4 separate regions of the Homo sapiens genome follow, and all the other regions are linked to region 1. The links are contacts of gene promoters, found by promoter capture Hi-C in blood cells and fetal thymus (Javierre and others, 2016). All regions are on one chromosome and are shown on one strand. Each heading gives the region's core, a stretch centred on a gene start or on the middle of the fragment in contact. The rest is flanking DNA. Distances are from core to core; before and after follow the strand shown. Region 1 holds the start of PHB2 (prohibitin 2). Region 2 overlaps NECAP1 (NECAP endocytosis associated 1). Region 3 has its middle 3.7 kb from the start of C3AR1. Region 4 has its middle 8.1 kb from the start of FOXJ2.

Region 1 (6,256 bases), core at 2,621-5,120:
GAGACATGGTTAAGGCTGAAGAGAGGCAGCACTCAGCTGCCAACCCTTCCATACAGAGGCTCAAAGGGTTGTGAGCACTGTCCCTGGAGTTACCTGGTGGGTGATATCTGGCCGCGCTTCCCCAGGGTCCCGTCCATTCTTCAACAATATAGACTTGTGCTTGTCACAGTTGAGTAGCTCATATGTCTTCCCTACCTGAAGAACAGGGAACATGACGAGAGAACAGCATAAGCTTCTGTTACCTAGCCCCGTGGTTCTTCAAGTGTGGTCCCCAAACTACCAGCAGCAGCTGCACCTGGAAACTTGTTAGGCAAATTCTCAGGCCCACCCTAGACCTACTAAACCAGGAACACTGGGGGTGGAGCCCAGCAAGCCCTTCGGGGGATTACTGTGCAGCCTTATTTGCACTCCCCAGTGAATGGTCTGAGAGGGAAACAGGAGGAAGGGCACAACCTGTGACTTCACATTATCTACTAATACACTGGATTTAATTAAAAAACCTGTGGCTGTTAGGCAAGGCCAATGAGACATCCTGGAACTAGGCAGGAGTTAGTAGTTAGCAAGGCTGAATGCTGTGTTTATTACAGGAGCAGTAAGTAGGTACTGTGCAAAATATCGAGTCACCACCCTCAGTTTGCGTACACCAAACATGCACTAAGTGAAGAGCTGCAAATCTGAACAAGAAATGTGAAGGCCGGGCGTGGTGGCTCACGCCTGTAATCCCAGCACTTTGGGAGGCCGAGGCGGGCAGATCACAAGGTCAGGAGATTGAGACCATCGTGGCTAACACGGTGAAACCCCATCTCTACTAAAAATATAAAAAATTAGCCGGGCATGGTGGCAGGCGCCTGTAGTCCCAGCTACTTGGGAGGCAGAGGCAGGAGAATGGCATGAACCCAGGAGGCGGAGCTTGCAGCGCCACTGCACTCCAGCCCGGGCAACAGAGCGAGACTCCATCTCAAAAAAAAGAAATGTGAAAACTAATGATGCAGGAGGCAGTTTAATCAAAGAAAACTCTCAGAAGTAAAAGGAAGAGGGGTTATTCCCAGTTTTAAGACGGGCATGGGGGCAGATGCAGTGGCTCACGGCTGTAATCCCAGCACTCTGGGAGGCCAAGGCAGGCAAATCACTTAAGGTCAGGAGTTCAAGACCAGCCTGGGCAACATGGCGAAACCCCATCTCTACTAAAAATACAAAAATTAGCTGGGCATGGTGGCACATGCCTGTAGTCCTAGCTACTTGGGAGGCTAAGGTGGGAGGATGGCTTGAGCCCAGGAGACAGAGATTGCAGTGAGCCAAGACTGTACCACTGCACTCCAGCAAGACCCTGTCTCAAAAAAAAGAAAAAAGAAAGACTGGCATGAGCAAAGGTACAGATGGAATCAAGACAAAGTAGCCAGGTGTGGTGGCTTATGCCTGTGATCCCAACACTTTAGGAGGCCGAGGTGGAAGGATCACTTGAGCCCAGGAATTTGAGACCGGCCTGGGCAACACGGTGGGACCCTGTCTCACAAAAAAAAAAAAAAAAATTAGCCAGGCGCAGTGCCATTTGCTGGCAGTCCCAGTTACTCAGGAGGATGAGGTGGGAGGACTGCTTGAGCCAGGGAAGTAGAGGCTGCAGTGAACCATCACACCACTGCACTCTGTTGCCCAGGCAACAGAGCAAGACCCTATCTCAAAAAAGAAACAAAAAAGAAAAAGTGGAAACGAAGAAAGGAAATTTTGAGGAAAATTGGGAGCTGAGACACTAAAGGGCAGTGATTATATATGAAGCTGCTTTGTAAACCACAGAATCCTAATGTATCAAGCACAAAGCCAAAAATAATTCTGGAGTAAGCAGGGCAGGATGGGAATGACTGACAGACACTATCCTAACAACTCTCTGTACACTGGAAAAGACATCAGAAGTTTGATGTTAAAGAAGTGGACTACATCTGTAGCAGCTAAAAGAAATAATTCCAAGTTGCAATTTGGAGTCCCAAGGAGCATTAGGGTGGTCAGTAAAAAGTCTAAAAACAAACTGTTATATACAAATACAAGTTTTGGAAGGTTAAGTTTTTATGTATCACTGGAATGTATATGTCTAGCAACATTCTTGAGATATATGGCTCCAAAAAGTCTGCGAAAAAAGGGATGTAGATTTTGAAATTGAATAGTTGAAGTAATGTCACAGAGAGCACAAAGAACAAATGACCAAGAACTAAGTCCATGAGACACCCTTAGTTATAGAAGAAAAAAACCTTCTTGAATGAATAATACAGTTTCAACCCATTAGTAGGATATAATCATGTTTTCTATTCTTTTAATAGATTACAGGCGCAGGCCTGTAATCCCAGCTACTCTGGAGGCTGAGGCAGGAGAATCGATTGAACCCGGGAGGCGGAGGCTGCAGTGAGCCAAGATCGTGCCACTGCACTCCAGCCTGGTAGAGACTGAGACTCCATCTCAAAAAAAAAAAAAAAAAAAAGTGTATTTAGAACGAAGATTAAAATCCTGGCCTGACTTCTAAACCAATGCGATTTCTTCTGGGCCTATTCAATTAGTTCTAACGGGTAAGAGAAAGGAGGAGGAAGAACACTGCCCAAGGCTTTAAGATAGAGAACTGCTGGTTCTATTACATGTGGGGAAAGAGATGAATGATAGATAAAAATGCAGATGTAAAAGTTTTAAATAATAACCAGGTCTGGACAGTGTATCATAGGTGGATATTAGAGAGAGGTGACTATGGATACTAATGAATTGAAACACGAAGCCCTTACAAAAAGTGTGGGCAGACTAGGCTACATAACTACGTTTCTCATCTGCCCAGTAACTTGTCTTGGGATGTGGAATGACGCAAGGAACGAAACTTTCCTCTGCTTAGACTACTATACCACAGAATCCTGGTAAACCAATTGGAAGCAAGGAGGTGAGGGCTAGAATATCATTCAAAAAGAGCAAAAGAAAATGAGTACTACCGGCCGGGCACAGTGGCTCACGCCTCTAATCCCAACACTTTGGGAGGCCGAGGCGGGCGGATCACTTGAGGTCAGGAGTTCGAGACCAGCGTGGCCAACATGGTGAAACCCCATCTGAACTAAAAATACAAAAAAATTAGCCGGGCGTGGTGGCACCTGCCTGTAGTCCCAGCTACTCCAGAGGCTGAGTCAGGAGAACTGTTTGAAGGCGGGAGGCAGAAGTTGCAGTGAGCCGAGGTCGCGCAACTGCACTCCAGCCTGGGCGACAGAGCGAGACTCCGTCTCAAAAAAAAAAAAAAAAAGAAAGAAAAATGAGTACTACCATCCCAGGATGTCAAATCAACGCAAAGCCAACCAAGCCACCTTCCTTCAAAAGCATCTTTCACCCCTCTCTGCTTTCTACATCCACTCTGGGCCCCTTACCCTCATTCCACGGAGTCCCAACCTATCGATTTACTACTTCTCCACTTCCTGTCCCAAACTACCTTGACTGTCTCCAGACTGGCCCCTTCCAGCACCACAATAAGCCTACGGCCTCCGATCTTGTTTCCTGCCCCTAGTCGGGGCCGCTTGGGTGGCAGAGCATCCCAGTCCTGTGCCTGCTCCCCACCGCTTCGTTCACGAGGCTTGAATCCATCACTGGGCGCGGCCATCTTGCAACAATACCGGAAGTTGCGCTAACGCTCTTAAATAAGAACAGCGCGGCTTCTAATCACAAATTTCCTTCCGGCTGCCATTTTGAAAGTGGGCCAGGAAATGGAGATGACTTGCTGTCTTGCGCTGCCCTCCCTGGGAGGGCAGCCTTCCAGAAAGGGGCGGGACTTCCGTATGCGCGATTCCTGTGCGCGAAGTTCGGGTCCGTAGTGGGCTAAGGGGGAGGGTTTCAAAGGGAGCGCACTTCCGCTGCCCTTTCTTTCGCCAGCCTTACGGGCCCGAACCCTCGTGTGAAGGGTGCAGTACCTAAGCCGGAGCGGGGTAGAGGCGGGCCGGCACCCCCTTCTGACCTCCAGTGCCGCCGGCCTCAAGATCAGACATGGCCCAGAACTTGAAGGACTTGGCGGGACGGCTGCCCGCCGGGCCCCGGGGCATGGGCACGGCCCTGAAGCTGTTGCTGGGGGCCGGCGCCGTGGCCTACGGTGTGCGCGAATCTGTGTTCACCGGTGAGCAACCTCCGCCTGCTCGCCGGACGCTTCCAGTCCCTCCCCCAAACCCCTTGCCCTGTCCCCGCGCCCCTCCACGGGCCTAGCATTTCCTCTGAGCAGCGGCCTGGCCTGATCACCACCCATCTCCCCACAGTGGAAGGCGGGCACAGAGCCATCTTCTTCAATCGGATCGGTGGAGTGCAGCAGGACACTATCCTGGCCGAGGGCCTTCACTTCAGGTAATGGCGGGCAGAGCCTGCTGACCCTGACCTTTCACCCTTGACGCCGACCCAGCAGTGGCTATAGTCGGACGTGCAACAGGATTCAACGCTGCTCTTTTCCCACCCTCCTCATCCCTGCCCCTAGGATAGTGGGTGCTGCGAGAACCTCCAGCAGCATACAAACTGTTGTTTTCCAGAGGGACAAGAGAATCTCTCCTTGTCTGTGGTCGTGGAGAGGAGCAGGCCAAAAAACGCGTGGTGAGGGGAAACCGGGCAAGGCTAGTGAAACTGCGGCCTTTTCTTTTTTTTTTTTTGGAGAGGGAGTCTTGCTCTGTCGCCCAGGCTGGAGTGCAGTGGCGCGATCTCGGCTCACTGCAACCTCCGCCTCCTGATTTCAAGCGATTCTCCTGCCTCAGCCTCACGAGTAGCTGGGATTACAGGCGCCCGCCACCACGCCCGGCTAATTTTTGTATTTTAGTAGAGACGGGGTTTCACTATGTAGATCAAGCTGGTCTCGAACTCCTGACCTCAAATGATCCGCCCGCCTCGGCCTCCCAAAGTGCTGGGATTACAGGCGTGAGCCACCGCGCCCGGCCGAAACTGTGGCCTCTTAATACCTATCCCTGTCCTCTCCAGGATCCCTTGGTTCCAGTACCCCATTATCTATGACATTCGGGCCAGACCTCGAAAAATCTCCTCCCCTACAGGCTCCAAAGGTAGGTCTGAGCACTTGGTAATCACATGGCAGGTGGGATGATCAAGGTAGCTGGCAAGAAACCCCAGGGGAATATGGTAGTGTCAGGCCTTTAGGCCTCTTTCCACATCTGCAAGAGCTGTAACAAAAATACCTGCCTCCTGGGGTCAAAGCAGCAAATTCTGAACACACTGTGTTTGCGTGCTTTTTACTGTCTCCTCCCTGACGTGTATTCAATAAGAGTATTGTTTGTCCCTCGTCTTGTTCACTGCCTAGATCAAAGCTTTGTTTTAAAGCCTTTTTTTTCTAACTGCTTGACTTACTATATCTACAGTTACATCCACTAGTACACTCTGTTCTGGAGAAGTTTGTCCCTAAGCTTGACTAGTTCACCTGTTCTCTCCTTCTAGACCATACATAAAAGCCGTGCCTTTGAGTTCCCCAGACCTCTTCCTCCTCCCCACCCACGCACACATATACACCCTGGGTCAGGTAGCTCACCTGTAACCTGTAATGTACTTCTTTGTGCTATACCTAGTGCAGGTCGCTTATTCATTTACTAGACTGGGCCCTGGGAATAAAAGATTCATTAAACACAATTCTTGTCCCCCAAGTCCTTACAGGAGACATGATTACGGTACAGCACGAAAGCGCCCACGTTAGAGGTTGCACAGAGTACAGAGGGGGAAAGAGTAGTCAGCTCTGCTGGTGACGGGGTTTGCAGTTCAAGGCTTCACAGTGGGTGAGGGTGCATTTCAGCTGTGCTGCGTCTTGTCTTCCTTGTCAGCCTGATTAACTCTCCTCCCCCCAGGGTAGTGCCAGGCTGTACACCATTGCACAGGGCATACAGGGAGGAACATGAAGGAGAAAATGCTTGGGAAAGGGTGTTTGGCCTTGACCAGCCACTGCTGACCTCAATCTCAGACCTACAGATGGTGAATATCTCCCTGCGAGTGTTGTCTCGACCCAATGCTCAGGAGCTTCCTAGCATGTACCAGCGCCTAGGGCTGGACTACGAGGAACGAGTGTTGCCGTCCATTGTCAACGAGGTGCTCAAGAGTGTGGTGGCCAAGTTCAATGCCTCACAGCTGATCACCCAGCGGGCCCAGGTCTGACTCCCACCACCATCTGCGTGGTGTCAGCCTTTCCTTCCTAGGCCCAGAGTATTGGGAATTAGGAAAGGCAGCTTATTAGAAAAGCATTGTCACCCTAGTGCCATTTCCACCTAAAAGCTGTGCTAAT
Region 2 (6,256 bases), core at 2,054-4,553, 1.1 Mb before region 1:
CCAGTTGGATGGCTGTGGTGCCTGGTTTGGAACAGAGCTGCAAGACAGGAGAACAGAGAAAGCCAGAGACATAATATTAGGATAACAACTCCATTCTTTACTTAATAGTTTCTAAGAAATCACTGCCTAGAATTTCCAAAACCACACTTCATGGCAATTCTACTTACAAAGGCCTGAAATATCCCACTCAAACCTCATCCTACAGCTTTTTTGTCCCCCCATTCCCAGCACTACTATATTTCCTTCACTAGAACTCTTCCAAAAGACTCTATGTGACCTGCATATCCATTGCTTCTCCAGATCAAAGATTTCAATTGACTGTACATATCTCCTACACCCTGATTGAGAGTATGCTAGTTTCACTATGCCCATTACCTGGAGGCAGTGCTGAAGTCTCCCCACAAGTCATTGCTTACAGAAACTGGAGTTGGTGCTGGTGTCGTGACAGGAGCAGGAGAATCCAAATCTAAAAGGATATCTAAACACAAGGTAAGAAAAGAAAAAAGAAAAACATAATCAAAATCTTGGAAGGGCCGGGCGCGGTGGCTCACGCCTGTAATCCCAGCACTTTGGGAGGCCGAGGCGGGTGGATCATGAGGTCAGGAGATCGAGACCATCCTGGCTAACAAGGTGAAACCCCGTCTCTACTAAAAATACAAAAAATTAGCCGGGCGCGGTGGCGGGCGCCTGTAGTCCCAGCTACTCGGGAGGCTGAGGCAGGAGAATGGCGTGAACCCGGGAAGCGGAGCTTGCAGTGAGCCGAGATTGCGCCACTGCAGTCCGCAGTCCGGCCTGGGCGACAGAGCGAGACTCCGTCTCAAAAAAAAAAAAAAAAAAAAAAAATCTTGGAGATGAGAATTTATGTTTGCACAAAAATCTGTATACAAATGCCACGGCAGCTTTATTCATAATGGTCAAAAACTGTAAACAACCTAGATGTCATTCCATGGGCAATAGTTACACACACTGGTATATCCATACCATGGAATACTATTCAGCAATAAAAAGAAACAGACTATTGACACACAACTTGAATGAATCTCAAGGGAATTATGCTGAGTGGGAAAAGCCTGTCCCAAAGGTTACATGCTGTATGATTCCTTTCATAGAACATTCCTGAAGTGACAAAATTATAAAGATGGAGAACAGACTGGTGATTGCCAAGCGTTAGGAATGGGGGAAGAAAGGATGAGAGGGAGATGGGTGTGGTTGTGTAAGGTTGACACAGGGGATCTTTGTAGTGATTAAACTGTTCTATAACCTGAAATGATGGTGGATCCATGAACCTACACATGACAAAACTGCAAAGAACTGGCCAGATGCAGTGGCTCACACCTGTAATCCCAGCATTTTAGGGGGCCAAGGCAGGAGGATCACTGAAGTCCAGAAGTTCAAGGCCAGCCTGGGCAACGTAGTGAGACTCTGTTGCTACAAAAATTAAAAAATTAGCTTGGTGTGGCAGTGTGCACCTGTAGTCCCAGATGTTTGGGAGGCTGACGCAGAAGGATCTCTTGAGCCCAGGAGTTTGAGGCTGCAGTGAGCTATGACTGCACCACTGTACTCTAGCCTGGGCAACAGTGTGAGACCCTATCTCAAAAAATAACAAAAAATCCTGCATAGAACTAAATATACAGATCCACACAAATATACACAGATGAGAACATGTAAAATGGTGTAAGCTGAGTAAGATGAGAAAGTGGTATCAACATCAATTTTTCATTTGTGATACTTGACAATAGTTCCACAAAATATTACCAATTGAGGGAAACTGGGAAAAGGGTAAACAGGATCTCTTCATATTATTTCTTACAACTGCATGTTAATCTACGATTATCTCAAAATAATAATTTAATTTAAAAAAAATCTTAGATACTATCCCCAGTGGCTTCTGGCAACACTTACCAAAAGAAGCAGGCTATAATATTTTCACCTCAAAAATTCCAGAAAGAGAAAGCTTACCCTTAGTAATCAATTCAACAAATTATCTGCACTGTCCAATACATTAAGTTAAAATTCTCAGATTCTAAGACACAGTTCTCTAATCTCAGAAAAATTCTTTTCTCAGTTCCAATGCTCTCATTTTTCAAATGAGAAGATATAACCATATTTATTCTTTCTCCCACCAAACAGAAAGAAAGAATGAAAGTGTATGGACAAACCTAGATATCTTCTTTTCTCCCAATTGCTCTTGTGAAGAAATGGGAAAGTTTAATAACATTTACTAAATGCCTACTATGTTCCAAGTGCTATGCTAGGTGCTGTCAATCATTTAACCCTCATGACCTTGGGGTGGTAATTATTTTATTTTATCTATTTATTTATTTATTTATTTTTGTTTGTTTCTTTGTTTTTTTATGAGACAAGGTCCCACTCTGTCACCCACACTGGAGTACAGTGGCACAATCATGGTTCACTGCAGCCTCCCAGACTCAAGCCATCCTCCCACCTCAGCCTCCCAAATAGCTGGGTCTACAGGCGTGCACCACCACGTCCAACTAATGTTTGTATTTTTTTTGTAGAGATGGGATTTCATCATGTTGCCCAGGCTGATCTCAAACTCCTAAGCTTAAGCAATCCACCCACCTCAGCCTCCCAAAGTGCTGGGATTACAGGCATGAGCCAAGGTCCCCGCTGGGGTGGTTTTACATCTCCAGTTTGTAGATAAGGCAATTGAAACTCAAAAAACTTAAGTAATGTTTACCAAGCACATTCAAATATAAAGTAGCAGAGCCATGACCAAAATCTTGGTCCATCTGACTCAAAAGCTTATAAGCATCTAACCAAGAAAAAAATGAAGGAAATTGTCATTTTAATAAGCAAATATTTTCTGCCAAAGAACCTATGAGATACTATGACTCTTAGTTCACTAGAAAAGCTTTGATTCCTTGCTAGAAGCTGACAGAATCACCTTGTCAGTACCATGAGCTATTTCATAGCAAAAACATTAACTCTCCTTGACAAACAGGTGTTGCTTAATTAAAACATAAGATTGGATTTCTCAAAATTAGAAGTACTAGATTTACCTGCATCACTGCCTCCATGGTTAGATTTCGGAATGGGTGGTGGGGTGACATGATTGCTGATGGCAACTGAGGAGGATGGTGGGGGAATAGTGACTTTGCCTCCTGGCGGGGGTGGGAGTAAGCTCAGACCCCCACCCCTTGCAGTCCTGGGCTTAGAAGCACCTCCTTTCTTGTTTGTAATGTTCTACAAAAGAAAAAAAGAAGAGCAAGAGAAAGATGTCATAGGCTTATGGAAGCACAGGAAAACAAAATTTTTAAAAACCATACTCACCCCGATACACAACTTGATGGTTTGTCCTTCCTTGAAGCCCAGATCCAACTTAGGACGAGCATCCATTTCTTGAGATTCCTTGGAAATCTCAGATTCCTGCTTTACCCACCTTTGGGAACACAGCAAGTTATCTTAGTTTGAGATTTCCTGAAAGCAGAGTCTGACATACAAATTTGGGTGTATTTACTTTTATGAAATGAGATTCCAGAAAACACAGTGAGAGATAAAAAAGAGTGAGAAACAGAAGGGAAAAAAGCCAAGAAAGAAAACAACTGGGGTTCAATTCCACTGGGGACTCTCTGAGAAATCTCACGGAATACGTATTAGAATTGCCCCTTCCAGAAGGATGGTATTTAGCCACCAATTCCCATTCCCCACAGTTGAGGGCTGCTCCTGAGGGGGTGTTAGTTTCTTAGTCTTTCCAAGTTAAAGCTTGCTCTTAGCTTTCTATAACTTCAGAGAGTCCTAAGGCAGAAAAGGAGAGATATGCTTGCTCTTGAGGTAGGAAGCTGACAGTGTGCACAGTGCTGTCAACCACAGCTGCACCAAAATCAAGTGGGCTAAAGAAATGTTGCAAAAGTCACAAAACATGTCAGCTACATAAGGTAACAAGAGTGGCACACGACTCCCCACATAAAGCCCTGCTGTTACCATAGGCCTCCCTCTACCACCTAAAAGACGGGGCAAATTCGACAGAGCATCATTTCAAACTACTGCACAAGGGATCTGAAATATATTGCAGGCTATAAGGAAAGGAAACAGAATAGATACAAAGATGACCTAAGGAAACAAAAGTGAATGGGGAGATTTATATTCACAATGAAATAGTTTAAGAAACAAAGAAACCAGGAGGAAAAGAGATACTGCCCATTCATGTGAGAAGCAGCATTCCTATAAGCATTCAGCCTCGTAACTAAGGACAAGCTTCACTCACTTGAAGTGATCCTGCAAGGAGACATTAAAGTCGAAGGCATCTCCCCGATCTGTGAAGCCAATGCCAATGAAAGCACTGCGCCCTGTGGAAAACGTAGGAAGACTCGACTAGGAAGTATCCTCTATGGCAGGAGCCCCCAACCCCCGGCACCAGTCTGTGGCCTGTTAGAAACCAGGCCATGCAGCAGGAGGTGAGTTGCACACGAGAGAGCAAAGCTTCATTGTATTTACAGCCGCTCCCCGTCACTTGCATGACCACCTGAGCTCCGCCTCCTGTCAGATCAGTGGCAGCATTAGATTCTCAGAGGGGTGTGAACCCTACTGTGAACTGCACATGTGAGGGATCTAGGTTATGAGCTCCCTATGAGAATCTGATGCCTGATGATCTGTCACTGTCTCCCATCACCCCCGTCTAGTTGCAGGAAAACAAGCCCAAGGCTCCCGCTGATTCTACATTATAGTGAGTTGTATAATTATTTCATTATACATTACAATGTAATAATAATAGAAATAAAGTGTACAATAAATGTGATGCACTTGAATCATCCTGAAACCATCCCCTAATGCCGGTCTGTGGAAAACTGTCTTCCACAAAACGGGTCCCTGGTGCCAAAAAGGTTGAGGACTGCTGCTCTATGGCAAATTTTGCCCAATGAAAATATAACAGTCACCCTAACTAGACAAAGTCTGAATGTGAAATATCTTCTCATAGACCAAGAGTCGATAAACTACATAGAGCCCATGGGCTTTATCCTGCCATAGCCTGGTTTTGTAGAAGAAGTTTCATGGAACATAGTGGTATCAATGTGTTTACATATTTTCTACAGTGATTTCACACTACAACAGCAAAACTGAGTAGTTGCAACAGAGGCCACCTGACCTGCAAAACCTAAAACATTTATTATTTGTCTGTTTGCCAACCTCTGTTATAGACCATGGAGAAAAGAGTAAGAATGACTGCCCCACACGTAAGATGATTCAAGATAGTCCCACCAAAAACTACCACGAACAATAAACGGGCAAAAAGTGTTCATTCTTTTTTTTTTTTTTGAGATGGAGTTTTGCTCTTGTTGCCCAGGCTGGAGTGCAATGGCGTGATCTCGGCAACCTCCACTTCCCCAATTCAAGTGATTCTCCTGTCTCAGCCACCCGAGTAGCCGGGATTACAGGCACCTGCCACCACGCCTGGCTAATTTTTTATTTTCAGTAGCGACAGGGTTTCATCATATTGGTCAGGCTGGCCTCAAACTCCTGACCTCAGGTGATCCACCCACCTCGGCCTCCTAAAGTGCCAAATGTGTTAATTCATTTGTTAGATATGTGTTTTTCATTTATTTAAGTCTACATATGAATTACCACATCTTGAACTCGTGCTTATCTATTACAAATAACATGTTAATACTTTTCCTTTAGCAACTAGAGCAACTTTAGAGAAAGGGAAGAAAAAATGAAGTAAACCAAAGAAAGATAAATGCAATCGGAAACACTTTTCATGGCTGTGCATTCACCTGTTTTCCTAACTTCGTTCCACTCAAAATCCCAGTTCTCTTACCAGTACCATCCTGGATCCGGATTACAAAGTAGCGGCTAGAATCTGTCACCGTCTCCACAGCAATACCAGGATATTGTTCTACTGGTGCCTGAGCAAAGAGCTCCCCTGACAGATAAGAGAAAGACTTTTTTGAGTAAAGCAAGCCAAAATCCAGAACCCCAATTAACAAGTAGTATTTCCATTCCAGTCCCCAAATTGAAGGTACTTATAAAAGCACACCAAATTAATATTCTTAATGTTAGAGGGTCACCCGCAAAGATTACCTGAAACTTTATCCTCGAGTTTGATATAGGCAGTCTTCCCTTTTGAAGTGATTCGGAGGCGACCAGTCCAATCAGGCTGGTCTAATTTCCAGTCAGAGGCCCTAGGACAGGAAAAGAGGAAGCCTCAGGCACATGTCCTTAATTTACTAACGCCCACCCACAATCTTTGACTGTATTTCTATTTCCCTATCCTGGATTGCCTATTCTTTCTACC
Region 3 (6,256 bases), core at 1,637-4,136, 1.1 Mb before region 1:
GTAATCTATAAATAACATAACCAATTAGGTCAGTGGTCGATCTTTAACTACCAGGCCCAGGGTGTGGCACCAGGCTGTCTGCTTGTGGATTCCATTTCTGCCTTTTAGTTTTTACTTCTTCTTTCTTTGGAGGCAGAAATCGGGCATAAGACAATATGAGGGGTGGTCTCCTCCCTTATCTCCTTGTTCACTTTTGCCTTTATAGAACTAAAGTCACAAAGGGTGTTAATGAAACATGTACCTACATTCAGTTTACTTCCACTTCAGCCTCTCCTACCTGGCTATTCTAGATACACTCTATAATAGAAAGTCAAAAACCAATAAATCGATAGAATAAGCAAAGTTTGTTAGATTTTCTTTAAATCACTAAGATTTGTCTGAGTTATCATGCCAAATTTGGCTGATTTCTTTCAAGATCCAGGCATAGATACTTGTTATTATGGTAGAGTTAACAGTTTTTTATTTTATTTACTTTTTAACTGAATTATTTTTAATTTCTGGGCAACTTTGTTCTTCAATTTGTGTTCCTACTTGGCTTTACCATAACTATGTGGATAATTAGGCAGTTATACTCTAGCGGGGAAAGAGTACATCTAATCTACATCTTTGAGGGCCATAGGTTAGAATTTGACTTGACAAAAAGGGTATGATTTCACACTGGGAAGGGAACATTTTGTAAATTATTTGCCACTTGTCTAAGATGGAAAATAATTTTGATCTAATAAGCAACTGTAATTCACATTAGTTTTTTGACATAATAATGGCTAATATTTGTTAAGTTCCGTATATGCTGGTACTGTTTTAAGAGCTTTGTGTGTCTGTTAATCTACTCCTGACAATACTATAGAGTAGGTAGAGAATATTCCCTGAATTAGTCATTTTCCAGCCAGGAAATCTAAAACCATTGTAGGTACTTCAAAAGGGATATATGAGACAAGAACTTGGGCCAGCCATCGTGGTTCACGCCTGTAATCATAGCATTTTGGGAGTTGAGGCCAGGAGTTCAAGACCAGTCTGAGCAACATAGTAAGACCCCATCTCTGCAAAACAACATTTAAAAATAGCTGGATGTGGTGGTGCATGCCTGTAGTCCCAGCCACTCGGGAGGCTGAGGCAGGAGGATCACTTGAGCCCAGGAGTTCAAGGCTGCAGTGAGCTACAATCAAGCCACTGCACTCCAGCCTGGGCAACAGAGCAAGACCCTGTCTCAAAAGAAAAAAAGAAAAGAAAAGAAAAAGAAAAACAAGACTTGGCTACAGAAGTGTCAAAAGAAGTAGAGGAATAAAAAGTGAAAAGATGATATTAGCTGTGTATCAATTACTGCAGGAGGATGCTTTCCTACAATTGGAAGAGAAAAAATGGAAAAGGATATTACCTAGAATAGGCAAGCATGCACTTGCTTTTAAGGATGGGAGTTCTTGCTGCCACTTAACAAGAATCTAAACTCACAGGCCTGCTGCTGCTGCTGCTGCTTGCTGCTGGAACCATTAATCCTGCTGGAGCCTCCAGCAGCCAGCAGCCACTGCTGCCACACCTGCCCCCTCCATTGCAGAAATCAGGTGCTAAATGATATCCCTTTCTCCCATATTGCTTTTCCTTTAACAATTTTAATGTTTATTCTATTTCATAGTCTTTGTTCTTTTATTTATTTTTATTTTTATTTATTTTTTGAGACAGGTTCTTTGTTGCCTGAGCTGGAGTACAGTGGCACTATCATAGCTCCCTACAGCCTCAACCTCCCAGGCTCAAGCCATCCTCCCGCCTCAGCCTCCCAAGTAGCTGGGTCTACAGGTGTGCACCACCATGCCCAGCTGATTTTTTGTATTTTTAGTAGAGGGGGGTTTTGCCATATTACCCAGGCTGGTCTTGAACTCCTGGGCTCAGGCAATCTGCCTGCCTTGGCCTCCCAAAATGCTGGGGTTACAGGCGTGAGTGACCGCTTTCTTTTACTTTTTTTAAAATTTTTTTATTTTTATTTTTTTGAGACGGAGTATCGGTCTGTCACCCAGGCTGGAGTGCAGTGGCGCGATCTCGGCTCACTGCAAGCTCCGCCTGCCGGGTTCACGCCATTCTCCTGCCTTAGCCTCCAGAGTAGCTGGGACTACAGGCGCCCACCACCACGCCTGGCGAATTTCTTTATGTATTTTTAGTAGAGACGGGGTTTTACTGTGTTAGCCAGGATGGTCTCGATCTCCTGACCTCATGATGCGCCCGCCTCGGCCTCCCAAAGTGCTGGGACACAGGCATGAGCCACCGCGCCCAGCCTCTTTTACTTTTAAAATAGATTTGCAATCTCTGTGCACAACCAAGTTATGAAATTAAAAGCAATAGTTCCCCTTTCTCCTTACTTTCCATTGACACATGAACATGTCCTTCCGGAAGATCCTATTCAGAACCCAGCTGGAGAGAAGGTAGAGGAGACATAGTCCATAGGTTTCTAATAGATAATAAGGAAGGGTGTGGGCGGCTTGAGTATCGATAGATGATATCTGACACAGTCCCTGTTTTGCAGATAAGAAAACGAGAACATACAGTGTGAGAAGCTTATTTTCAGTAACACAATTAGTAAGTGGCAAAGTTGAGACTTAAACCCAGGCTTTCTACCTGCCCTCCCTTAGTCCTTAGAATACCCTTTTTACTCCCACCAACGCCATGTACCTGTGCCATTTAGTTGTGTTGGGCTCACCTCCCCCTTAATATGTGCTCATGCTTTTCCCTTGAAATGCCCTCTCAGCTTCAATCTCCCTGCTCAAATGAGAGAATTATAGATTGTTAGATGTAAAAGAAACCTGAAAGACCATTTAATCCAACCTTTAATTTTCCACCTAAGAAAACAACAACAAATTTCTAGGTCAAGTATCTAGCCCAAGGTCGAGTAGTTATTACAAAACTGAAAGTCAAATGTATGTCTCCACATTCCTGGTCTAGTGCTCTATTCACCTCATGAATCTTTTCTTCCATAAAAATTTTCCAGCTAATTCTAGCCACCATCAATCAATCTTACCCTTTGCTGACCAGCCATTGCATTTGTCTGTGTCATCCACAGTTTTTGGCACTTAGTTATATTTAATTTAGAGCATAGGTTACTACAAATTATCTAATAACGGATTTAATCATTTTTTGTTGAAGTCTTTAAGGACAGTAACTTTATAATGTATTTAACTCTCTCAGAGAAAACAAGCTAGAGATCTGTGATTCTAACATTTTTATTTTGGCCAAACAAGCTTTAATACAGATCTCCATCAATTACAGTGTAGAATTAGTCAAGTGACTGGTAAAAGGTTTTAATATGGCTGCCTTTGCAACATACATTCAAATTTTCTTTTTTCCAAAGCATCTGATCTCTGCTTTTAGAAATTTATATTTAGATATTCAGAATAGAACAAAACAGAAGTGAATCACATAACTTCCTCAGAGCTTTCCACAATACACCACAAAACAACCAGTACTTTTTAAGAAGAGAGAGAGGTCATCCAGAAACAGGAGCACTATTCACAACAAGTTTTTAGTAATTTTCTTCCTGAAAAATCCAAAGAACACAGCTGGGAGCTCTTGAACCAGTTTAAATTGCTGTATAACATCCAGCTAAATTTTTATATTTTTAGTAGAGATAGGGTTTCATCACGTTGGCCAGGCTGGTCTCGAACTCCTAACCTCAGGTGATCCGCCCGCCCTGGCCTCCCAAAGTGCTGGGATTACAGGCATGAGCCACCACACCCAGCCACATTGCTGTGTAATCTTTAGAGAGAGAGAAATTAGTAAAAGTGAATTCATGCCAGAAACAACTCTAAGGACTCAAGTTAATTATTTGAATTATATTCAGATGTCAACATCCTTTTCAAACAAACATTCATTCACTTATTGGTGCCACAGACCTGTTATACCAGGCAAGGTAGCAGCCACTGGAGACAGACAAGAAATTCATGGTAGGGGAGAGAGAGAGACAAGGTATTATTTTACAGTACTATTGCCTGACAAATTTCTACCCATCCTTATGGCCCCAATGCTACCTCTTCAGTGCATCATCGTGGGTTTGCTTCCATGAGAATTAGTCTCTTACGGTTTCATATTCCCAGGGTGTATTGTGCCCTCCTAACAGCCCCTACTGTATTACAGTTATATACATCTCTCATTCCTCCTCCATCTTCCGCAGTGCAACACACTGTATCAGGAGCAGGAGCAGAAGCAGAGTATATGTTTATGGTACTGAACTTAGTGTGACAATTTGTGAAGTCTCTTTAGTGGAAAATTCTGTATCTTTCAAAATGTAAAAGTGTGTGCTCTTAGACTTAGCAATTCCAATTCTAAAACTCTATTCTACAGAAATACATGTAAATACTATAGTGCTCATTGAGTTTTGTTTATAATCATTTAAAATTGGATAAAAACAATATTCCACGAAAAATAATTAAGTAAGTGGAATAATATGGAGCAACTTAAAAAGTATAATTTGGGACCGCACGCAGTGGCTCACGCCTGTAATCCCAGGACTTTGGGAGGCCGAGGTGGGCAGATCACCTGAGAGCAGGAGTTCGAGACCAGCCTGGCCAGCATGGTGAAACCCCGTCTCTACTAAAAATACAAAAAATTAGCCAGGTGTGGTTGTGGGCACCTGTAATCCCAGCTACTTGGGAGGCTGAGGCAGGAGAATCGATTGAAGCCAGGAGGCAGAAGTTGCAGTGAGCCGAGATCGCACCATTGCACTCCAACCTGGGTGACAAGAGCAAAACTCTGTCTCAGGAAAAAAAAAAAAAAAAGTGTAATTTGGGCCAAGATGTCCTGATATAAAAAGATAAGTGGAAAAAATAGAACAAAACAATATGCGTAGTAGAATATGCGTATTTAAGAGAGAGACTACATCTGGAAAGTGGAAAGAGGATAGCTAGGTGTTTAGGAAATTTTGGTTTTTACTTTAATCTTCTCATATTTAATTTTTACCATGGGGAATTAATTGTTTTTATAAAATATATTTTAATTAGATATATATGTACATATATGATAATCCTACATTTTATATGCTTTCTGGATACCTATATTATTCAATATTTCCAAATATTGGAGGAAAGAAAACCCAAAATAATCAATAGGATTATATGTACTAACATGGAAGTATGTTTTGATATATTGTTAAGTAAAAAAGCAAGACATAAAATCACACATAAATTACCATCCCATTTATGTTCAAAACTACCTTTTAGAAAAATGTGTGTTAGGCCGGGTGGGGTGGCTCACACCGGTAATCACAGCACTTTGGGAGGCTGAGGCAGGTGGATCACCTGAGCTCAGGAGTTCAAGACCAGCCTGCCCAACATGGCAAAACCCCATCTCTACCGAAAAAATATAAAAATTAGCCGGTTGTGGTGGCACATGCCTGTAGTCCCAGCTACTAAGGAGGATGAGGTGGGAGAATTGCTTGAACCTAGGAGGCAGAGGTTGCAGTGAGCCAAGATGGTGGCACTGCACTCCAGCCTGGGCGACAGACTGAGGCCCTGTCTCCAACAAACAAAATGTGTGCTATATTCAGAAAAAAAAAAATCAGGAAGAATGAACACTAACCTATTAAAAATAGTTACTTCGAGCAGTGGAATTGAAAAGAAAATCTTTCATTTTTTTTACCCATTATAATTCTGTATTATTTCAATTTATCTCTTCTAGAACAAAGTATGTTCTATTTTTGTAATTAGATGATGACAATGGAAATAAACTAATAAATACTACTCAACTCTTGGCATTTTTCTTTTGATCTTTCTGCCTCAAAAATATTCCGTGGTGACTTGACTGCAAACAAGCAGAGGAGCAGATATTATGGTTTGGACAAGTTGATTAATATAGACTGAAGCCTATATCACAGACAACAGTGTTCAAATACATTTGACCCAAATAAACTTTATTTTATATGCATATATCTAAAAGAGTATATGCATATATCTAAAAGAATAATATAAGAATTATTTACAGCATAGTATTCATTAAGCAGGAATTACCTTCAGTCTTCTGTACTCCTTCCTGATGAAACAGCACCTAGACTCCAGCCTGTTCTCCAGTGACCACTAAGCTCTCCCACCTACCTCCCCACCTACCTGCCCTCTACCACCTACCTGCCTTTGACTAGGCTCCACTTATAGCCTAAGCAGCTTTTCACCTTTTTCTGTCTCTAGAATTCCTACAGGTACTTAATTAAGTACTTGCCCACATCTTATTTCTATCTTAAGACTCTCCTAGATTGCCCTGGGTTATATATACCCCTGGCTAGAGT
Region 4 (6,256 bases), core at 1,040-3,539, 1.1 Mb before region 1:
TTTTTTTTTTTTTTTTTTTTTTGAGACGGAGTTTTCGCTCTTGTCGCCCAGGCTGGAGTGCGGTGGCACGATCTCGACTCACTGCAAGCTCCGCCTCCCGGGTTCACGCCATTCTCCTGCCTCAGCCTCCCGAGTAGCTGGGACTACAGGCGCCTGCCACCACGCCCGGCTAATTTTTTGTATTTTTAGTAGAGACGGGTTTTCACCGTGTTAGCCAGGGTGGTCTCGATCTCCTGACCTCGTGATCCGCCCGTCTTGGCCTCCCAAAGTGCTGGGATTACAGGCGTGAGCCACCGCGCCCAGCTTTTCTACGTTATTTTTCTATCCTCTTCCCAGCCTGTTTGATTTCCACTCCCCTAAAAATTAGACTGGAGCCAGGGAACAAGAGATGAAAAACTGGGAGGCGAGGTTGGGAAGCAGGGGCCGGCACATCCCAGCGGTAGAGGCCCAGCAGCCCAACATTCCTGTTCCACCTTAAGAAGCTTTCGCCTCTGCCCAAGACGAGCAAGCACTCGGCTCCTCCCACCCCCGTGTCAGCTCCGGCCCGGGAACGTGGGCTAGGCAGGAAAGACGCACTGAATGGAAAGGTTGGCGCCAGAGGCAGCAGGTCTCTCCTGCCCCCTACTCCACCGGCGCGGGGAGGAGCGTGTGAAGCACGGGCCATTGGGGTTGGGTTCCTTTCTGGAGGACCTCAGGGATAAGGACACGTCCTACTGAAACTGGGGGCCGGGTACGTGGGCCATGGGGCCCATCTTGGGGTGGGGTCTTGGGGAGACAGAACTGGCACAGGAGATACACAGCACGCCGCGATCGTTAGCAAAAGTCGTAAGTTTCCCTCGTTCCGGACGCACCTCTTCAAATCATTTCCAAAAGAGGTGGCAAGTTTTCCATCCTCCGCCCCAATTCTTCATCTTCCTCTTAATTGGCTGGGGTTCGGGTAGGCCCGGCCCAAGATCGCTTGTTGATTGGCTGCGTTGGTAATCTATCACAGGATGACGCACGCGAGGGGTGGTATTTGGGGGAGGAAGTGAGGATTATTTTGGTACCTCCTACCCCAACTACTGATTGGCTGAGATTTGCAGTGATGTAAAACAAGACATAAAAATGTCCACTAAAGGGAAGGGTCTGTTTGCCATTCTCTCTGGGCCGGGGGGACTCTGTTAATGTAGAGAAGGACCAAACTGATTGAAACACGGAAATGAGTTTAGAAAGGAACTGAAGGAAAACGAGGGAAATCCGCGACACCTTCGTTGCCTTCAAACAAGGTCATTTCCTGCACGGGATCGATGGTTTCCTGTTTACTGCCTCCGAAGTCTGCGTGTACACTGGCTTTCTGGAATCTGCATGATAATTAAATTCTTATGAGCCTTTGGTCCCAGACTTCCCATTTGTTTACGTTACATAAGAGAATGAATGACACGGAGGAAAGGAAAAGGGTTTCACCCTGCCTTTAGACAAGGACAGGGAAAACTAAGTTTCTCTAATATTAGAAAGCTGAAGACTGACCCTGGATCACAGTATTCAAGCAGTTGGGTTAGAAACCATTCGTATAATAGTTGGAGAGAGTAGATGCAGGTGAAAAGAACTGTAAAGATTTCTCTGAATGAAGGGCATTAATCACATACAGAAGCCTTCCTCGTTAGAGAACTACATCTTTTTTTATTTTTTTTATTCATTTTTTTTCTTTAGACAGGGTCTCGGTCCATCACCCAGGCTGAAGCGTGATTTCGGCTCACTGCACTCTCCGGGATTCAAACGATTCTCCTGCCTCAGACTCCCGAGTAGCTGGGACTACAGGCGCCCGCCACCACGCCCAGCTAATGTTTTTTGTATTTTTAGTAGAGACGGGGTTTCACCATGTTGGCCAGGCTGGTCTCGAACTTCTGACCTCAAATGATCCGCCCACCGCAGCCTTCCAAAATGTTGGGATTACAGGCGTGAGCCACCGCGCCTTGCTGAGAACTACATCTTATCTCTGGTGCCCGGCAGTGTCGGATACATAGTAGGTAGTCAACTGATGATGTGAACCAAACCAGAGGGAGAAGACTTTTATAAAGTACACTGCTGGGCACGGTGGCTCACGCCTGTAATCCTAGCACTTTGAGAGGCCAAGGCGGGCGGATCACCTGAGGTCAGGATTTCGAGACCAGCCTGTCCAACATGGTGAAACCCAGTCTCTGCTAAAAAATGCAAAAATTAGCCGGAAATCGCTTAAACTAGGGAGGCGAGGTTGCGGTGAGCCGAGATGTTGCCACTGCATTCCAGCCTGGGCAACACAGCGAGACTCCGTCTCATAAATAAAAAAATAATGCTGGAAAAATCCTAAAAATGCGAGACTTGAAGTAGATCTGCTTCACAAACCTACCTGAGATGCTACTTCACAAACCTACCTGAGATGCTACTTCCATGAGAAAATGCTGTTTTCCTCCTAACACCTTGAGGCCTTTAAAATTTGAAAGCAGATTTCCCCTCAACCTACCTTCCTGGAAAAATTGAAAAGATAGGTGGGATTAGTGAAAAGATGTCCTCTACATTCAGTGAATGGAACATAAAGTGTTTATCCTACAATCTGAGGCAAGAGACTAGGAAGAAATTATTTGAGAGCTTGAGAGGTATCATCTATACTATGTTAGTTATGGAATCATTTGCTTCCTTAGCATGATGTACACTTTTTTTCTAGTCCGGAGTTTTTCTTTCCTTTTTTTTTTAAGACAGAGTCTTGCTCTGTCTGGAGTGCAGTGGCGTGATCTTGGCTCACTGCAACCTCTGCCTCCTGGCTTCAAGCGATTCTCCTGCCTCAGCCTCCCAAGTAGCTGGGACTACAGGTATGCCACCACACCCAACTAATTTTTTTGTATCTTTAGTAGAGGCGGGTGTTCACCATGTTGGCCAGGATAGTCTCGATCTCTTGACCTCGTGATCCACCCTCCTCGGCCTCCCAAAGTGCTGGGATAACAGGCATGAACCCCTGCACCCAGCCTAGTCCAGAGTTTTTCTTATACTTAGAGCTCAGCGATGCTTTAACATTGTCTAAAAACTGCTCTAAACTTGAGGACAAGAATTTCCCTTTCATATTATAACTATCCCTACCACAAGACTCTGCGGGGGCTATTGGTCAAGATTCTGCAACGGTATTTTCTGCTTATCAAAAGAGATCCTATCTTACGATTCTCTAGGGTCTTCTAGGTCAGGTGGTTTACAAAAGAGTATATACAATACTGGCTCTTTAGTATCATTGTGGCGATAGTTTAGGAACAAGGAAAGGAGCAGGAGGCAGCTATATTTGCAATAACAAAAATGCCATGGAAAAATTATTACTGGGCTGTAAATAATTCTGGCATAATAAAGTGTATATTACCTATGCCAAAAGAGAGGGGAGATGTTAATATTTTCAAGAATTGTGTTTGAGGGAAAAGTGCCCTTTGTTCCTAGTGATATTAAATAAATCATGAAAAACATACAAAAAATTATTTTTAGGCTAATAATTCATACACTTACAGCACTGTCACTTTCCCCCTGATGATGGGCAATAAGCAAAAGCAGAAATTTTTTTTAGCAAGGGGAACCTAGAGCCCAACACCAAGTCTGAAGAAGGAAAGAACTGGTATTGTCCTAACCATAGATCTAAGCCCTCCAATTTGTAAAGGGGTGGTACCTTGATTGGTAAGAACATGACATACTGAGTTACATAGAACCTGAGGCCTTAGAAAAATCCTCAATTCATGATTCCTCCTGAAGCCTGGCTGCCTGCCCTTCTTAAACAATAGTAATCATGAGTTTCTTTCATCCCTGGAAGCCCAAGAAACAAACACCAGGCCTCAAAAGACCAGGGATGAAAGCACTGGGTTGCATTGCCTTTGGCATTTATGGAAAGAAGAAAAAGAAGAAAAGGGCAGTGGGCTACTGCTCAATCAGGTATTAGATCTGTCAGGGCTGGCTGCAGTAACTAGAAACCACTTAAGTAGGAAAGGCTTTAATACTGGGGCTTAATGTGCTTACAAAATCGTTGGAAGTACTGGAGAAAGGGGGTTTCTGCTGTATATCAGAAATGGCTCCAAGAATGAGGCTGCTAAATTCACCCACCAGGAAAGCTTTAGAAAGATGAGAAATCAAGACTGTATTGCTGCAGCTGTTGAGTTCAGGAACACATGCCCCTGTACTGACATGAGTATGGAAAGAAAAAAAATTAAAAATAAAGAAAAAAAGGAGAACTTACTGCCCTAGTTGTGATCAAGGAATTGGGCAGCTACTGTTGCTAACACAGCCTCAGCACCTTTCAACAGCCATGAAACGCCGGGCACAGTGGCTCACACCTGTAATCCCAGCACTTTGGGAGGCCGAGGCAGGTGGATCACCTGAGGTCAGGAGTTCGAGACCAGCCTGGCCAACATGGTAAAACCCCATCTCCACTAAAAATACAAAAATTAGCCGGGTGTGGTGGCGGGCACCTGTAATCCCAGCTACTTGGGAGGCTGAGGCAGGAGAATCGCTTGAACCTGGGAGGCAGAGGTTACAGTGAGCTGAGATCGTGTCACTGCACTCCACACTCCAGCCTGGGTGACAAAGCGAGACTCCTTCTCAAAAACAAAAACAAACAAAAAAAAACAGCCGTGGAACTAGTGAATAGACATTGGAACACTGCTGCAGAAAAACCCAGCATTCCCATGACTCTGCTGACCAGCAGCAACAGCCAAAGCGGCCAGCAGCTGACCCCAGCCTGGCTTCCACTTTTCAAGTTTCTTATGTGTGCAAATTATTGATAGATCCACAATTTACAACTAGAATCCTAGTTGCGAAAAAATCTGGAAAGTATAGTTTTTGGTTTTCCAGTCTCTGCAGAGGAAGGTATATAAAGGAAATAGAACATGGGTCACCTATATCCACTACAAGAATATATGGATCTACATTTAAAAGATTTCCCTCCAGGGCGTGGTGGCTCATGTCTGTAGTCCTAGCTACTCAGAAGACTGAAGTGGGAGGATTGCTTGAGCCTGGGAGGTCGAGGCTGCAGTGGAGCTGTGTATGTTCCACTGCACTCCACCCTGGGTGACAAAGTGGACCCTATGTCAATAAATAAATAAGCCGGGCCAGGTGGCTTACAGTGGTGTGGTCCCAGCTACACAGGAGGCTGAGGTGGAAGGATCACTACTGCACTCCAGCCTGGGCAACAGAGCAAGGCCTTGGCTCAAAAAAAAAGAAAAAAAGAAAAAAAAACCCCACAGATTTTCTTAGTAACAAATAAAATGTAGAATGAAACAAAAGGATGTTGAACCAGAAGCAGCATAAGAATGAAGCAAAAGTCTGTTCTAAACTTTTTCATTTTATAAACCAGTGGGGAAATATGAGAGAGCACAGAACTTTTTATATTTTCAGGTAAAGACATTAATTACCAACTAAAGTCTACTATGCCCATCATTTTATAAAAGAATCAACATTTTAATATTAATTAAAACCTTCCACCAGAAAGACAGGAAGGTTATAGTCTCAGGGCTGGGTGCAGTGGCTCATGCCCATAATCCCAGCACTTTGGGAGGGTGAGGATTGCTTGAGCTCAGCAATTCGAGACCAGCCTACGAAACATGGCGAGACTTGTCTTTACAAAAAAATACAATTTAACAAAAAAATTAGCTAGGTGTGGTGGTGATGCCTGTCGTTCCGGCTACTTGGCCAACTTGGGTAGGAGGATCGCTTCAGCCCAGAAGTTCACACCACTGCACTCCAGCCTGGGCGACAGAGCAATACTGCCCCCCCAAAAAATTTAAAATTAAAAAAGGAAAGTTTCAGTCTCAGAATTTAATAACTAAATACATTTAACATCAAGAAAAGTACTACTTTGTCCTGTCCTTTCTGAGTGAACACTTTGGCCAGTATGACAGGGCTCTGAAGCCACTGAGGTAATGTGAGATCTCTGCCATAGTAAGGAGAAAGCTTAGCTTCTTGTCCAGCCTGCTTCGGACTTACTGAACAATTCTGAACAAGTCACTTGACCACTGGGCCTTCATTTATAACTAATTAAAATTAGTACTACAAGTAAATATTAATATTTAAGAGGGAAGGGGCCAGGCGCAGTGGCTCATGCCTGTAATCCCAGCACTTTGGGAGGCCAAGGTGGGTGGATCACCTGAGGTCAGGAGTTCAAGTCCAGCCTGATCAAGATGGTGAAACCTCGTCTTTACCAAAAATACAAAAATAAACCGGGCGTGATGGCAGTGCCTGTAATCCCAGCTACTCGTGAGGCTGAGGCTGGAGAATCGCT

The links. Contacts are between HindIII fragments. The CHiCAGO score rates a contact against its expected background, and 5 or more counts as called.
Region 2: a fragment that was not itself captured here is called in contact with the fragment with the promoter of PHB2 in region 1 in 1 of 17 cell types (activated CD4 T cells); the score reaches 5.5 in activated CD4 T cells.
Region 3: a contact is called between a fragment that was not itself captured here and the fragment with the promoter of PHB2 in region 1, in 2 of 17 cell types (total CD8 T cells and naive CD8 T cells). The highest score is 6.1, in total CD8 T cells.
Region 4: a fragment that was not itself captured here is called in contact with the fragment with the promoter of PHB2 in region 1 in 5 of 17 cell types (activated CD4 T cells, naive CD4 T cells, naive CD8 T cells and 2 more); the score reaches 7.6 in activated CD4 T cells.

Annotation. Positions count from the first base shown.
Region 1 is chr12:6,968,278-6,974,533 of GRCh38, reverse strand. It overlaps PHB2 (prohibitin 2), which reads left to right and starts at 3,870. Exons shown (of 10, transcript NM_001144831.2): 1 at 3,870-4,117; 2 at 4,254-4,338; 3 at 4,957-5,036; 4 at 5,939-6,123. The coding sequence starts at 3,991. It overlaps EMG1 (EMG1 N1-specific pseudouridine methyltransferase), which reads right to left and starts at 3,621. Exons shown (of 6, transcript NM_006331.8): 1 at 3,443-3,621; 2 at 94-195. The coding sequence starts at 3,610. RefSeq lists enhancers at 3,314-3,433, 3,484-3,663, 3,754-3,823, 3,344-3,946. The HindIII fragment of the contact is 5,065 bases long and covers 235-5,299 here.
Region 2 is chr12:8,089,823-8,096,078 of GRCh38, reverse strand. NECAP1 (NECAP endocytosis associated 1) reads right to left here. Exons shown (of 8, transcript NM_015509.4): 2 at 6,043-6,143; 3 at 5,780-5,884; 4 at 4,229-4,310; 5 at 3,295-3,403; 6 at 3,024-3,207; 7 at 376-478; 8 at 1-37. Among named protein-coding and RNA genes, the nearest start is that of NECAP1, 11 kb to the right of the region's middle. The HindIII fragment of the contact is 851 bases long and covers 2,878-3,728 here.
Region 3 is chr12:8,066,917-8,073,172 of GRCh38, reverse strand. No RefSeq gene overlaps it. Among named protein-coding and RNA genes, the nearest start is that of C3AR1, 3.7 kb to the right of the region's middle. The HindIII fragment of the contact is 681 bases long and covers 2,546-3,226 here.
Region 4 is chr12:8,021,444-8,027,699 of GRCh38, reverse strand. No RefSeq gene overlaps it. Among named protein-coding and RNA genes, the nearest start is that of FOXJ2, 8.1 kb to the left of the region's middle. RefSeq lists an enhancer at 695-884. The HindIII fragment of the contact is 3,609 bases long and covers 485-4,093 here.